4 separate regions of the Homo sapiens genome follow, and all the other regions are linked to region 3. The links are contacts of gene promoters, found by promoter capture Hi-C in blood cells and fetal thymus (Javierre and others, 2016). All regions are on one chromosome and are shown on one strand. The core of a region is centred on a gene start or on the middle of the fragment in contact, and the rest is flanking DNA. Distances in the headings are between cores, read along the strand shown. Region 1 overlaps FBXO34-AS1 (FBXO34 antisense RNA 1). Region 2 has its middle 22 kb from the start of FBXO34. Region 3 holds the start of ATG14 (autophagy related 14). Region 4 overlaps LOC107984708 (a long non-coding RNA gene).

Region 1 (2,863 bases), core at 198-2,697, 140 kb after region 3:
ACATCTCAAAAAGGAAAAAAAAAATTAAGGAAGGGTGTTATATGGTACACCGTGGCATCAAACTGTATGTCTGATTTAATATGTGAGCAATATTAGCTCAATATATCATGATCATTTGAAGCTTCTTTATGTCATAGTTAGCTCAAAATTGTAAAACTTCAGTTTATCCTTTCAGATTCATCTCAAACACTGTCCTTCTTAAAACCTCTTGATTCCTTCTGGGCATGGTGGCTCACGCCTGTAATCCAAGCACTTTGGGAGGCCAAGGCATGCAGATCATTTGAGGTCAGGAGATCAAGACCAGCCTTGCCAACATGGTGAAACCCTATCTCTACTAAAAATACAAAAATTAGCCCGGTGTGGCAGGGCACGCCTGTAGTCCCAGCAACTTGGGAGGCTGAAGCAGGAGAATCGCTTGAACCTGGGAGGTGGAGTTTGCAGTGAGCTGAGACCACACCACTGCACTCCTAACTGGGCGACAAGAGTGAGACTCCATCTAAAAAAAAAAAAAAAACAAACAAAACTTGATTCCTGTTGATTAGAGGACTCAAAAAATTGATATAAAAATGAAATTAATTTTAAAAGACATAATAAAAGCCCGAACTATTAATTATTATATTTTTTCATCTTTTTCTTGAGGCAGGGTCTCACTATGTTGCCCAGGGTGGTCTCAAACTCATGGCCTCAAGCAATCCTCCTTTCTCAGCCTCCCAAATAGCTGGAATTACAGGAGTGAGCCACCATGCCTAGCCTATGAATTATTGATTATTAAAGTCCACAGACATAAAATTATTCTGTCAAATTGCTAGTAAAGTTTCTAAAATCTGATTCTCAATTTCAGTTCTTGTCTCAGATTGGCCAGTGAACCACACTTTAAATAGCCCCAGTCTAGGAGAAAAGAACTAGGAGAGAGCATAACCATGTTAGGCAAGAACTTCCCTTGATTTTGTTTCTCCATTTGTATAATGGCAATGATCCCCTAGAAGCAAAGCCAGTAGAGCCAGTATAGTTTATCAACCCACAGGTCCTGTGGTAGGTCTTCAGGAAGGTGCTCCCCAGGTGGGCATGGGGTGGCACATTGAGGCCATGGGACTGGTGAGAGCCGAAAGAAGAACAAGACTGAGGTGGCACAGCAGCAGAAAAGTTCTAAATATATATAGTATATATATTTGGTTATTCCATTAGTAATTAAAACTTAGTTGTTTCAAGCCAGCAAACATATTAATTAAAACTCAGTTCAAGGGATTTGTCTTGTATAGACTTGGTTTCATTTCTGTTCTTTGCTCAGAAAAAAAAAAAAAAAAAACTAAGAACTTACTGCTTATTCCTTAATAAGCTTACTCCAACCTCCAAATAAAAACACCCACTGCTATGGTTTGAACGTGTCCCCCAAAGTTTATGTGTTAGAAACTTAATCCTCAATGCAACAGTGTTAAGAAGCGGGACCTTTAAGAAGCAATTAGGTCATGAGGGCTCCGTCCTCATGAATGGATTAATGCCATTATCAAGGGAGTGGATTACTTATCAAGAGAGGGAGTTACTATAAAAGCAAGCTTGGCCCTCTCTATCTCTCACTCTGTTAGGTGTTCTCTTGCTCTTCCACCTTATACCATGGGATGATGTAGCAAGAAGCCCCTCAAGAGTTATGAACCCCTTGACCTTGGGCTTCCCAGGCTCCAGAACTGTAAGAAATAGATCTCTGTTCTTTATACATGACCCAGTCTCAGGTGTTCTGTTATAGTAGCATAAAACAGACTAGGACACCCACCATTTCATCTTCTCTCTCTCACCCCCCAACCCTCCTTATCAAACTTACTTCCCCGCTGCTGGAGAAAGGAAACCAAGAGACAGGCTCCATTAGACTTTGCATCTAGACCTACTTTGCTGCAGAACCTAGGCCGCTGGGTGTGATAATGCCTTTCCCTACCTACTTGACTGTGTTATTATAAAGACCAAATAAGAAAAGAGAAGCAGAAGTGCTTTTAAAAGTTTCAACTTTGCAAAAGTAAAGCATGTACTTAAAAAATATGCCTGGAATGTGGCCGTTGGAGCATGCTTCAAGCCCTGAGCTTATGCCCAGGTTTATGCATGTGTGAAGCTCATTGGTGATGACGGGGGGATGGGCAGGAGCTACTCAGCCATGAGAATATAAATATTATCCACAATAAATAGAACAACTCAGGGAAAACTAGAGCACCAAGGCAGCACACTGTCTAACAGATATGATTCTATCTTATAATTAAGATGTGGATGGTGAGGGACATAAAGTTGAATAAGTATTGAAACCCAGGAAATCATAGTTCTTATCCTTCTTATCCTTCTTTTTAGATCTTGTGCCCCTGTGAAAATCTGATAAGAGCTAAAAATCAAGAGTCTCTTTGGAGACTCTTAGCAGAAGTAAAAAAGCACACCCTGATATATACAGACAGTTTAGAAGATAATTTTAATTTTTTTAAAAGTTCCTTAGATTAACTTATCTTATAGTGATCTGCACTCTCATGGTGGGGCGGTGTAAGAGACATGTAGAGCAAGGGCAGCCCTTCCAGTACAATGGATGGGAAACAAATCAAGGTCCCAGATCCTCCTATCCCCACAGTATTGCCCTCAGAACATTCAGAAGGTGGTTTCTACACTGTCAATACAGTGAGCCACACAATTTCCATAGGTATCTCTCTTTTTTTTTTTTTTTTTTTGAGACAGGGTTTTTGCTCTGTCACTTAGGCTAGGCAGCAGTGGCACCAACTCGGCTCACTGTAGCCTTGACCTCCCAGGTTCAAGTGATCCTCCCACCTCATCCTTACAAGTAGCTTGAACCACAGATGCTCGCCACTGTGGCTGGCTAATTTTTTATTGTTGTTGAGAT
Region 2 (2,941 bases), core at 54-2,553, 160 kb after region 3:
CTGGTAACCACTCATCTTTTTACCATCTCCATAATTTTGCATTTTCTAGAATGTCATATACTTGGAATCATACGTATTTAGCCTTTTCTTTCCTTTTTTTTTTTTTTGAGACAGTCTCTGTCGCCCAGGCTGGAGTGCAGTGGCACAATCTTGGCTCAGTACAACCTCCGCCTCCCGGGTTCAAGCAATTCTGTCTCAGCCTCCCAAGTAGGTGAAATTACAGGTGCCCGCCACCATGCCCGGCTAATTTTTGTATTTTTAGTAGAGACGAGGTTTCACCATGCTGGCCAGGCTGGCCTCGAACTCCTCACCTCACGTGATCCGCCCACCTCAGCCTCCCAATGTGCTGCGATTACAGGTGTGAGCCACTGCACCCAGCCATAGTGGCCTTTTTAAAATTCTTCTGAATGAGGTTAAGATTGTAAAATATTTAATGTCTTTCTCCAGAAGGGCAAAAGTGGCCAGTTATTTGTCTCTACTTGCATAAAGTAGACTTCTAATAATTAGAAATATGACTAGGAATACCACCATTTTCCACAGCAATCCATGAGGACCTGGGCCTGGGATGAGGTACCTGGTTATGCCTCCACCACCTGGCACAGTGTCCCCAGGACAGGTGTGACACAGCATCATCACCATCACTCTGAACCCCTCAGGTTGCCAGGACACTGCCAGCCACATCAGATGCAGAGAGCACCAGTGAGCATTGCACCTAGAACCAAACCAGAAGCTGGCAACAGGCACAGACCTCAGTGGAAGCAGGGGAGGGAAGCCCATAAAACGCTGGCCAAAAGCTCTTCCTCTTCTGAGTACATATTTCATTCCGAGGCCATGAGGGCTTTATTCTGCCACAAAGGTCAAAGAAAACTCCCCATTCTCAGCTCCCTCCTTGATTTTTGTCTAGCCTTTGAATGTGAATGGGGCAATTTACTGGAGGAGTCATACAAATGGTTTCAACTTACTTCACTACTTTTAACTTTAAAAAGCTAAGGATAAGGCAGGGCGCGGTGGCTCATACCTATAATCCCAGCATTTTGGGAGGCTGAGGAGGGCAGAAAACAAGGTCAGGAGTTCGAGACCAGCCTGGCCAATATGGTGAAACCCTGTCTCTACTAAAAATTCAAAAAAAAAAAAAAATTAGCCGGGCATGGTGGCGCATGCCTGTAATCCCAGCTACTCAAGAGGCTGAGGCAGGAGAATTGCTTGAACCCGGGAGGCAGAGGTTGCAATGAGCCAAGATCTCACAACCGCACTCCAACCTGGGCAACAGAGTGAGACTCTACCTCAAAAAAACAAAACAAAACAAAACAAAAAAAACCTAAGGACAAAGCAAGTGGTACTTTCAAAGTCTTCACATTTCTAGAATGTGGAGTCCAACTGTGATCATGGAAATAATTAATAATTCTCACATGTTTCCTGCATGTGGGGTGAAATGTTTGATGACAGAAGCCCTTCAGGTTGCTGCTGTTCAAAATAATAATCTGAGGGGGTATTGAGTGCTGGAGGGATCTCCTCTCTCTCACAGAGGCAAGAGTATTGGGCCACCTGAGCATCTTTTCAATGTGGCACCTGAAAAGTGCCAGTCTCCAGTCCTGGAGCCACGACTGGTCCAGTTCAATGAGTAGCTCTATCTTGTTAACAATGAAACTGTGGCTCAGCTGGGGATTGGTTGATTTTAACTGGGTAGGGATGAGTAAGTGTGCTGACCTCAGCTGGCTTTGCTCATGTGTCCCAGGGTTACCCGGAGGTCCGCTGATCTGGGCTAAGCTGGGCAGCTCTTCTAATCTCAGCTGGACTTGCTCATGTGTTTTGGGGTCAGCAGGGGGTCAGCTGATGTGGGCTGGGCTGGGCAAGCTCAATGTATCTCTCGGTCAGCTGGGAGTCAGTGATGTATGCTGGCCCTAGCTATGCACTGGGACCTGCCTTACCTGTCTCTCATCCTCTTCCTAGAACAACAGGAGAGCTCACTCCTGACTTCCCTTGGCTATAGCAGAGGCACAAGAAAGTCTTTGGAGGGTAATGATCCAATCTGCATTTTTGAAACATTTTCTCTGGCTGCAGGATGTCAGCAACTATTTTGATGGCCTTTTGTCTCCATGAAGTCCTCATCCTCAGAGAAAGAAAAAGTTATCTGGAACTGGGATATAGAGTAAGTGCAGATGTGAATGTCCATTGCTTCTTTGGTTTCTGTGGTTCACTTCACCGGCTCCAGAACCACACCATCTTTGCCAGGATCTGCACCTGCAAAATGCAGGCCCTGTACTCTCCCTCCTTCCCCATGTAACTCCATCTTGAAACAAATGCTTGAGTCTAGGTAGTGGAATCTACATCACTCGTATGCACCCTAACAAGAAGGAAATCTTGGAAAGGGAGTTTGGGGTTCTACATTGAGAAGGCAGGATTTCTACTGAGGAACTATGATAACGAAGATAGACTATTTGGAAGATTTCGGGCAGCTGCGAATGACAGATGTTCATGACAGTTGCCGTACTTGTCTCATGTGATCTGGCTACTCAGGACAAAGCTGCTCATCTATAGACTGGACATAAAGCAAAGCATTGCCATTTAAGATGGCTTGTAGCAGAACTCTGCCCAATAGGAACAGAGAAGGATAAACTGGCCCAATTTAATCCTCTTTCAGGGAATCTGAAAGTGAGACATACAAAGAGGGTCAGCAGTGAGCAGGCAGAGAAAGTCAGGTTACAAGAATGGGAGTCAGACAAAAGTAGGAAGCAGAGCGACACCATCATCTGAGTTACATGCGATAGTTACGAAACCTGCTATGGTGTCACTACATTTGCCACAGTATCTGGACTAAGATTCTAATTTGATGTGGAGCCTGATGTAGAACTCCCATCACATCAGACTTGAAAACTTCTCTGCTCTTGTAATCTATAAAGATCCAACCCACCGCACCCACTAGAAAAGATAAAACACAATA
Region 3 (2,791 bases), core at 34-2,533:
ACTGTATTCTGAATATAGAGAATTTTTGCTTTTGCTTGTTTTTGTAATCCTACGTGATTTGTATTTAAAAAGACTGGGTAAGATTAAGAAGACGGAGGAGCAAAGGGCTCAGATTCAAGACCTAATTAGCTTGTAGAATCACCAGTTTTCGATGGTGATGTGGAGATTAACAGGGAGGGACGGGCTAATATGAATCATGGCTCTTGGCTGTAAATCATCAGTGATTACGTCCTTTACCAAAGTAAGAAAACAGGTTTGTAGGGAGGCAGAAGTCAGTTTCCAACACTTTGAGTTTGTGGTGTCCTGGAATGTCACCTGATACCTAGTAAGTAGTTCTGGATCTTTGGGTATGGAACTTGAGAAAGGAATCCTGGCTAGAGAGAGAATTCAGGGCAGTTTATCAGTAGATAGCCTAGTAAAATCATCCTTGAGAATCACTGGTCTATTTAATCTCACCTATAAACTCACTTTTCTCTGTAGTTTAGAGGCATATTCAAACACTAATTACTCTGATATGATCCTCCCAACACATCACCTTATATATCCCCTATCCACCAAAAGAAACTTGAAGGGAAGTCCTAACCATCTACCTAGTTCAAATTCTCTTAGAGCATGGCCCAGGGTAGGGAAGGTACGTTAGCCACGTGATTAACTTTTCAGAAGGATACAATTCTGATTTTGCACGTTCACTTTGGTTGTTTTCACTATTGGTAAAGTATAATACTATTAACCATATTAATCCTCACGGCATTAGATGGGTACTATAATTCTATCCATTTAACACGAGAGAACAGGCGCAGAGAGATTAAGGAACTTGCCCCAAGTCACACAGCTATTAAGCAGGTGAGTGAGCCAAAATTCAACCTAGTTCCAAGACCCAGCCCCTTCACCCTACTTTGTTTGCTGTAGTTTAGCCAGATTTTAAAGCATCCACAGCAAGTTAAATTCCCTTATTCCGCTCCCATTCCGTTTTCCCAGAATCCTTAGGGTATGGTATTACAATTTTCTGCACAAGTTTGAGGCTTTAACTCGTAGTCTTGGCCTGAGCCAGCAGATGACATTTTGTTTGGCCGACTAGCCCCTCTAATATAACTCTCCCCCTGCTTCGGGACCTGTTGCCCCTCAGCAGACCGGAAAAACAACAGTGCCCGGGACAGGAACACGCGGCGGCGGAGGGGTCCGGGGGCTCGCCGGCATCCCAGCCCCCCTTCCCCAGGCCCCTCCTCCTGGCCCAGAATGCACCCGGTTGAAAACAAAATCCCACGTGACTGGCTCTCCTCTCAGGCCATCATGGCGTCTCCCAGTGGGAAGGGAGCCCGGGCGCTGGAGGCTCCTGGCTGCGGGCCCCGGCCGCTCGCCCGGGACCTGGTGGACTCCGTGGACGATGCGGAGGGGCTGTACGTGGCTGTGGAGCGCTGCCCGCTGTGCAACACTACCCGCCGGCGGCTGACCTGCGCCAAATGCGTTCAGAGCGGCGATTTCGTCTACTTCGACGGCCGCGACCGGGAGAGGTACGGCGGCCGCCACGGCCCTATTGTTTCTTCTGCTGTGTGTCCTCCAGCCAGGCAGCCGAAGGCTGGAACCTGGGGCTCCCCGTCCGGGCACCAGATACCAGCGAGAGGAGCGAGAGAGAGGGAGTGTAGCTAGCTGCTCTGCACCGGAGCTTTGCTACCAGAGGACAGCGTAGGGGCCAGATGAGGGAAGGTCGCCGTTTCCCCATCACCCACCCAAGAGGAGTTTGACCCCACGGTGCTCTTGGTCACTGGGGAAAAAAGGAATAAGTGGTGACTCTCTGGAGAAGTTTTCCCGTTGCTGCCATTAAGTTAGATTCCCAGCTCTTTGCTGTATGTACTCCCATTCAAAAGCTTGGCTTTCTATTTTCGAAAGCATATTTATACTCATTCTCTAGAGGAGAGAGTAGAAGAGAATCAAATAACTGCTTTAGAGGGATTTGGGCCTGGTAGTCTGTCACAGATGGACTTTGTTATCAGACATGCTTACTCTAATGTGTGAATTGAGGCTTGCTGTTAACGCCCCTTTCCCCTCCCTGCCTCTAAAGATTATTTTAGATTCTTAGGAATTTGGGAACGTGTTTTGGCCTTGTTTTAAAATTCAGATTGGGAGCTGCATGCTTTTAGTTAAGAGAATTGCCTTTAGGAAAATGTTTTGGTTTCATTTCGAAATCTAAACAGCTACAAGTTCTTGGTTAAGAAAATTGAAAAATTAGTGTGATTAGCTGCAGGATCTCCCACTCTCAACTTATGTTTCAACAATTTAGTGTCAATGATAGTCAATGATAGTAAGATAGCTAGCATTCTGAGCACAAAAATTCAGGTATTAATTCATTCGCAACAACCGAATGACTTATCCCCAACTTATTAGGAAGCTGCACAGTAAGTGCTTTGCCCCAGGTCACACAAATAGTTAAGTGTTGGTACAAGAATTAAAATTCAGACAGCTTGGACCTATGTACCCGCACTTAACCACTAGACTTTATATCCTCTATATTTGGGAATGTTTTGAGTTCTTAGTATTTCTGTGATCGTGGATGGAGTTCTTTCCTTTCTCTTTTGAGGAGGTTTGAATGACAAACTCTTTTTTAGTTTTGTTGCTGTGTCTTATTGGTGCTCTTGATGACTTTAGAAACTGCTTATGTAGTAAGTGATAGCTTTAAAAATTAAACCAGTTATAAGAATACGGGGTATGAGATGGAAATGTCTAACTGATGGAGTGAATCGAGGATTTGGTTCTGGACCTTCTTGTCTGTCTACACGTTTTACTATGTCTATTC
Region 4 (3,084 bases), core at 558-3,057, 200 kb after region 3:
AGAAAAACAAAACAACCTACCTTGCAACTTCACTTCTAAGCATTGGCTACAAATTACAAAAAAAATTAGTTATAGAAAAGTATCATCAAGACTATCATCTACAATATCTTCATCCAAAGTAAATAGAAGAGAGGCTGATGCAGTGAGAGAGTTTTTTTTTAAGGAGAAACACTGATGGCTCTTTCAAACATTTGCTTTTTGTTGATATAAATTATTCAATGCATCATGGAGATTCATTACTATGAACTACTGCAATAATGGTTGAACTCAGCAAATTCTTTTTTTTTTTTTTTTTTGAGATGAAGTTTCGCTGTTGTTGCCCAGGCTGGAGCGCAATGGCACAATCTCAGCTCACCGCAACCTCCGCCCCCCGAGTTCAAGCGATTCTTCTACCTCAGCCTCCCAAGTAGCTGGGATTACAGCCATGCGCCACCACACCCTGCTAATTTTGTATTTTAGTAGAGACAGGGTTTCTCCATGTTGGTCAGGCTGGTCTCGAACTCCTGACCTCAGGTGATCTGCCTGCCTCGGCCTCTCAAAGTGCTGGGATTACAGGCATGAGCCACCACACCTGGCCAGCAAATTCATTTACACAATTATTCAGATAGGAACTTAGGGTCAGGCTAATTTACTTAAAGATTTTTCTTCCTTCTCTTCCCTTTCCCTGAGCCTCCTCTGGGTACTCCTTACACTGGGCCACCATGAACTGCTTCTGCTTGTGCAACTTGCCATATAACTAGGGTCACCAGATAAAATACAGGATGCCCAGTAACATGTGAATTTCAGGTAAACAATGATTTGTTTTTTATTATAAGTATGTCTCAGATATTGCATGAGGATATGCTTATACTAGAAACTTGTTCTTTATCTGAAGTTAACATTCAACTCACAACCCTGAATATTTATTAACTGTAGTTCTGTATTTTTATTTGCTAAATCTGGCAACCTTACACATAATTCTAAGGGCCTATGACAATTTTTAGTTGGCTAAAGGGTAATACCACGGACTTTCCAGACTACAAAATACCTGACTGTTGGAATTTTACTTTTAGATCTGCCTCTTTTATACTTAAAGAGCAATTATAAAGTAAGACCCCGTGTAACCACCACTCAAGTTAAGAAATATGTATATTTTTATTTTATTTTATTTTTATTTTTTTTTTTTTGAGACAGAGTCTCACTCTGTCACCCAGGCTGGAGTGCAGTGGCATGATCTCGGCTCACTGCAACCTCCGCCTCCTCAGTTCAAGCGATTCTTCTGCCTCAGCCTCCCAAGTAGCTGGGACTACAGGCATGTACTACCATGCCCAGCTAATTTTTGTATATTTAGTAGAGACGGGGTTTCACCATATTGGCCAGGCTGTTCTCGAACTCCTGACCTTGTGATCCACCTGCCTTGGCCTCCCAAAGTACTGGGATTACAGGCATGAGCCACCGCGCCAGGCCAGAAATATAGCAATAGAAGGACTATGCGAGTACCTTAGAAGCCATCTGTGTTCCTCTCCTCGGATGGCATCATTCTCCTTCCCCTTAAGGGGTAACCACTATCCTGACTTTTATGATAATCATTCTGTCTGGTGTTTCTTTAGGCTTGCCACCTATATATGCATCCATAAACAATATAGTTCATTTTGACTATTTTTGAACTTTATACAAAAGTTTCTATGTAAGTGATCTTTGTGACTTGTTTCTTTCACCCAACACTGTGTTTATAAAACGTGTCCTTTTTTTTTGAGACGTGGTTTCACTCTGTTGCGCAGGCTGGAGTACTGCAGTATGATTACCGCTTACTGCAGCCTCAACCTCCCAGGCTCAAGTGATCCTACTATCTCAACCTGCAGAGTAGCTGGAACCACAGGCACATGCCACCACACCTGGCTAATTTTTTTTTTTTTTTTTAGAGACAGGGTCTCACTAGGTTGCCCAGGGTGGTCTTAAACTCCTGGGCTCAAGCAATCCTCCCACCTCAGCCACCCAAAGTGTTGGGATTACATGCATGGGCTACCGTGCCTGGCAGTTTATCCATGTCAATGCATGCAGCTGTGGTTCTTTAATTCTTCTTTTGTATAAAAATGTTCCAATATGTGATTGTGCCCATAATTTATTCATCCATTGTACTGTTATGCGCTGATGGTACAGTTTTAACTTAAACTGACAATTTTTTAATGTTTTAAATGTATAGAAATGAGCCCAAATAACTATATCATGTGTAAAATGGGAATAATAAAAGAAAAAATAAAATAATAAAATAACTATCATAAAATAGTTTCATACTATGCAGGAAAATTGCTAATATTTAGTACTCTCTAAAATCTGTTGTTATTGTTTTCATTAATAGGGAAAAATTTAAGATGGCTTATATAAAATGGTTCTCATTTATAGTCATTTAATTTTTTTTTTTTTTTTTTTTTTTTTTTTTGAGACAGAGTCTTGCTCTGTCGCCCAGGCTGGACTGCAATGGCATGATCTCGGCTCACTGCAACCTCTGCCTCCCGGGTTCAAGCGATCCTAGTGCCTCAGCCTACTGACTAGCTGGGATTACAGGCACGCGCCACCACGTCCGGCTAATTTTTGTATTTTTAGTGGAGACGGGGTTTCACCATGTTGGCCAGGCTGGTCTCAAACTCCTGACTCAAGTGATCCGCCCGCTTCGGCCTCCCAAAGTGCTGGGATTGCAGGAGTGAACCACTGTGCCCAGCCTAAATTTTTTTATTGTTGTGCAACATACAAATAATAAAATGAACAAATAAAAATACAGCTTTATGAATTTTTACATATACACCTATGTAATCACCACCCAGATAAAAATGTAGAACATTTCCAGCACCCTCTTAAGATGACTGTCTTACGACGCTTTATTTCCTGTTGCTACCTACTAGAAAGCTGACTGCCTACATTTTTGAACACATGTCTAATACTGGGCCGCATGATGTTGGTTTCTGGGCTTTTGGGTGCCACCATATGGTAAGCCTGCTGTACTGCAATTGATTTCCAAAATAAAAAGTAATAATACAGATTCTGATGTGGTTAACAATGAAAACAGAGGACCTAATATTTCTACTAAAAAAGAAAAAGACTTATCTT

Evidence for each region. The method cuts DNA at HindIII sites, captures the fragments that hold promoters and counts their contacts. A CHiCAGO score of 5 or more calls a contact.
Region 1: a contact is called between a fragment that was not itself captured here and the fragment with the promoter of ATG14 in region 3, in 11 of 17 cell types (non-activated CD4 T cells, erythroblasts, activated CD4 T cells and 8 more). The highest score is 10.8, in non-activated CD4 T cells.
Region 2: a contact is called between a fragment that was not itself captured here and the fragment with the promoter of ATG14 in region 3, in 3 of 17 cell types (activated CD4 T cells, non-activated CD4 T cells and total CD4 T cells). The highest score is 5.5, in activated CD4 T cells.
Region 4: a contact is called between a fragment that was not itself captured here and the fragment with the promoter of ATG14 in region 3, in 7 of 17 cell types (activated CD4 T cells, non-activated CD4 T cells, erythroblasts and 4 more). The highest score is 7.4, in activated CD4 T cells.

What each region holds. Positions count from the first base shown.
Region 1 is chr14:55,267,226-55,270,088 of GRCh38, reverse strand. The region is part of intron 1 of FBXO34-AS1 (FBXO34 antisense RNA 1); the gene reads left to right. Among named protein-coding and RNA genes, the nearest start is that of FBXO34, 2.8 kb to the left of the region's middle. The HindIII fragment of the contact is 217 bases long and covers 1,339-1,555 here.
Region 2 is chr14:55,248,421-55,251,361 of GRCh38, reverse strand. No RefSeq gene overlaps it. Among named protein-coding and RNA genes, the nearest start is that of FBXO34, 22 kb to the left of the region's middle. The HindIII fragment of the contact is 8,647 bases long and covers 1-2,941 here.
Region 3 is chr14:55,410,322-55,413,112 of GRCh38, reverse strand. ATG14 (autophagy related 14) reads left to right here and starts at 1,283. Exons shown (of 10, transcript NM_014924.5): 1 at 1,283-1,511. The coding sequence starts at 1,291. It also overlaps a transcript of FBXO34 not described here. RefSeq lists a silencer at 994-1,293. The HindIII fragment of the contact is 5,042 bases long and covers 1-1,867 here.
Region 4 is chr14:55,213,117-55,216,200 of GRCh38, reverse strand. The region is part of intron 2 of LOC107984708 (a long non-coding RNA gene); the gene reads right to left. Among named protein-coding and RNA genes, the nearest start is that of DLGAP5, 23 kb to the right of the region's middle. The HindIII fragment of the contact is 4,492 bases long and covers 1-3,084 here.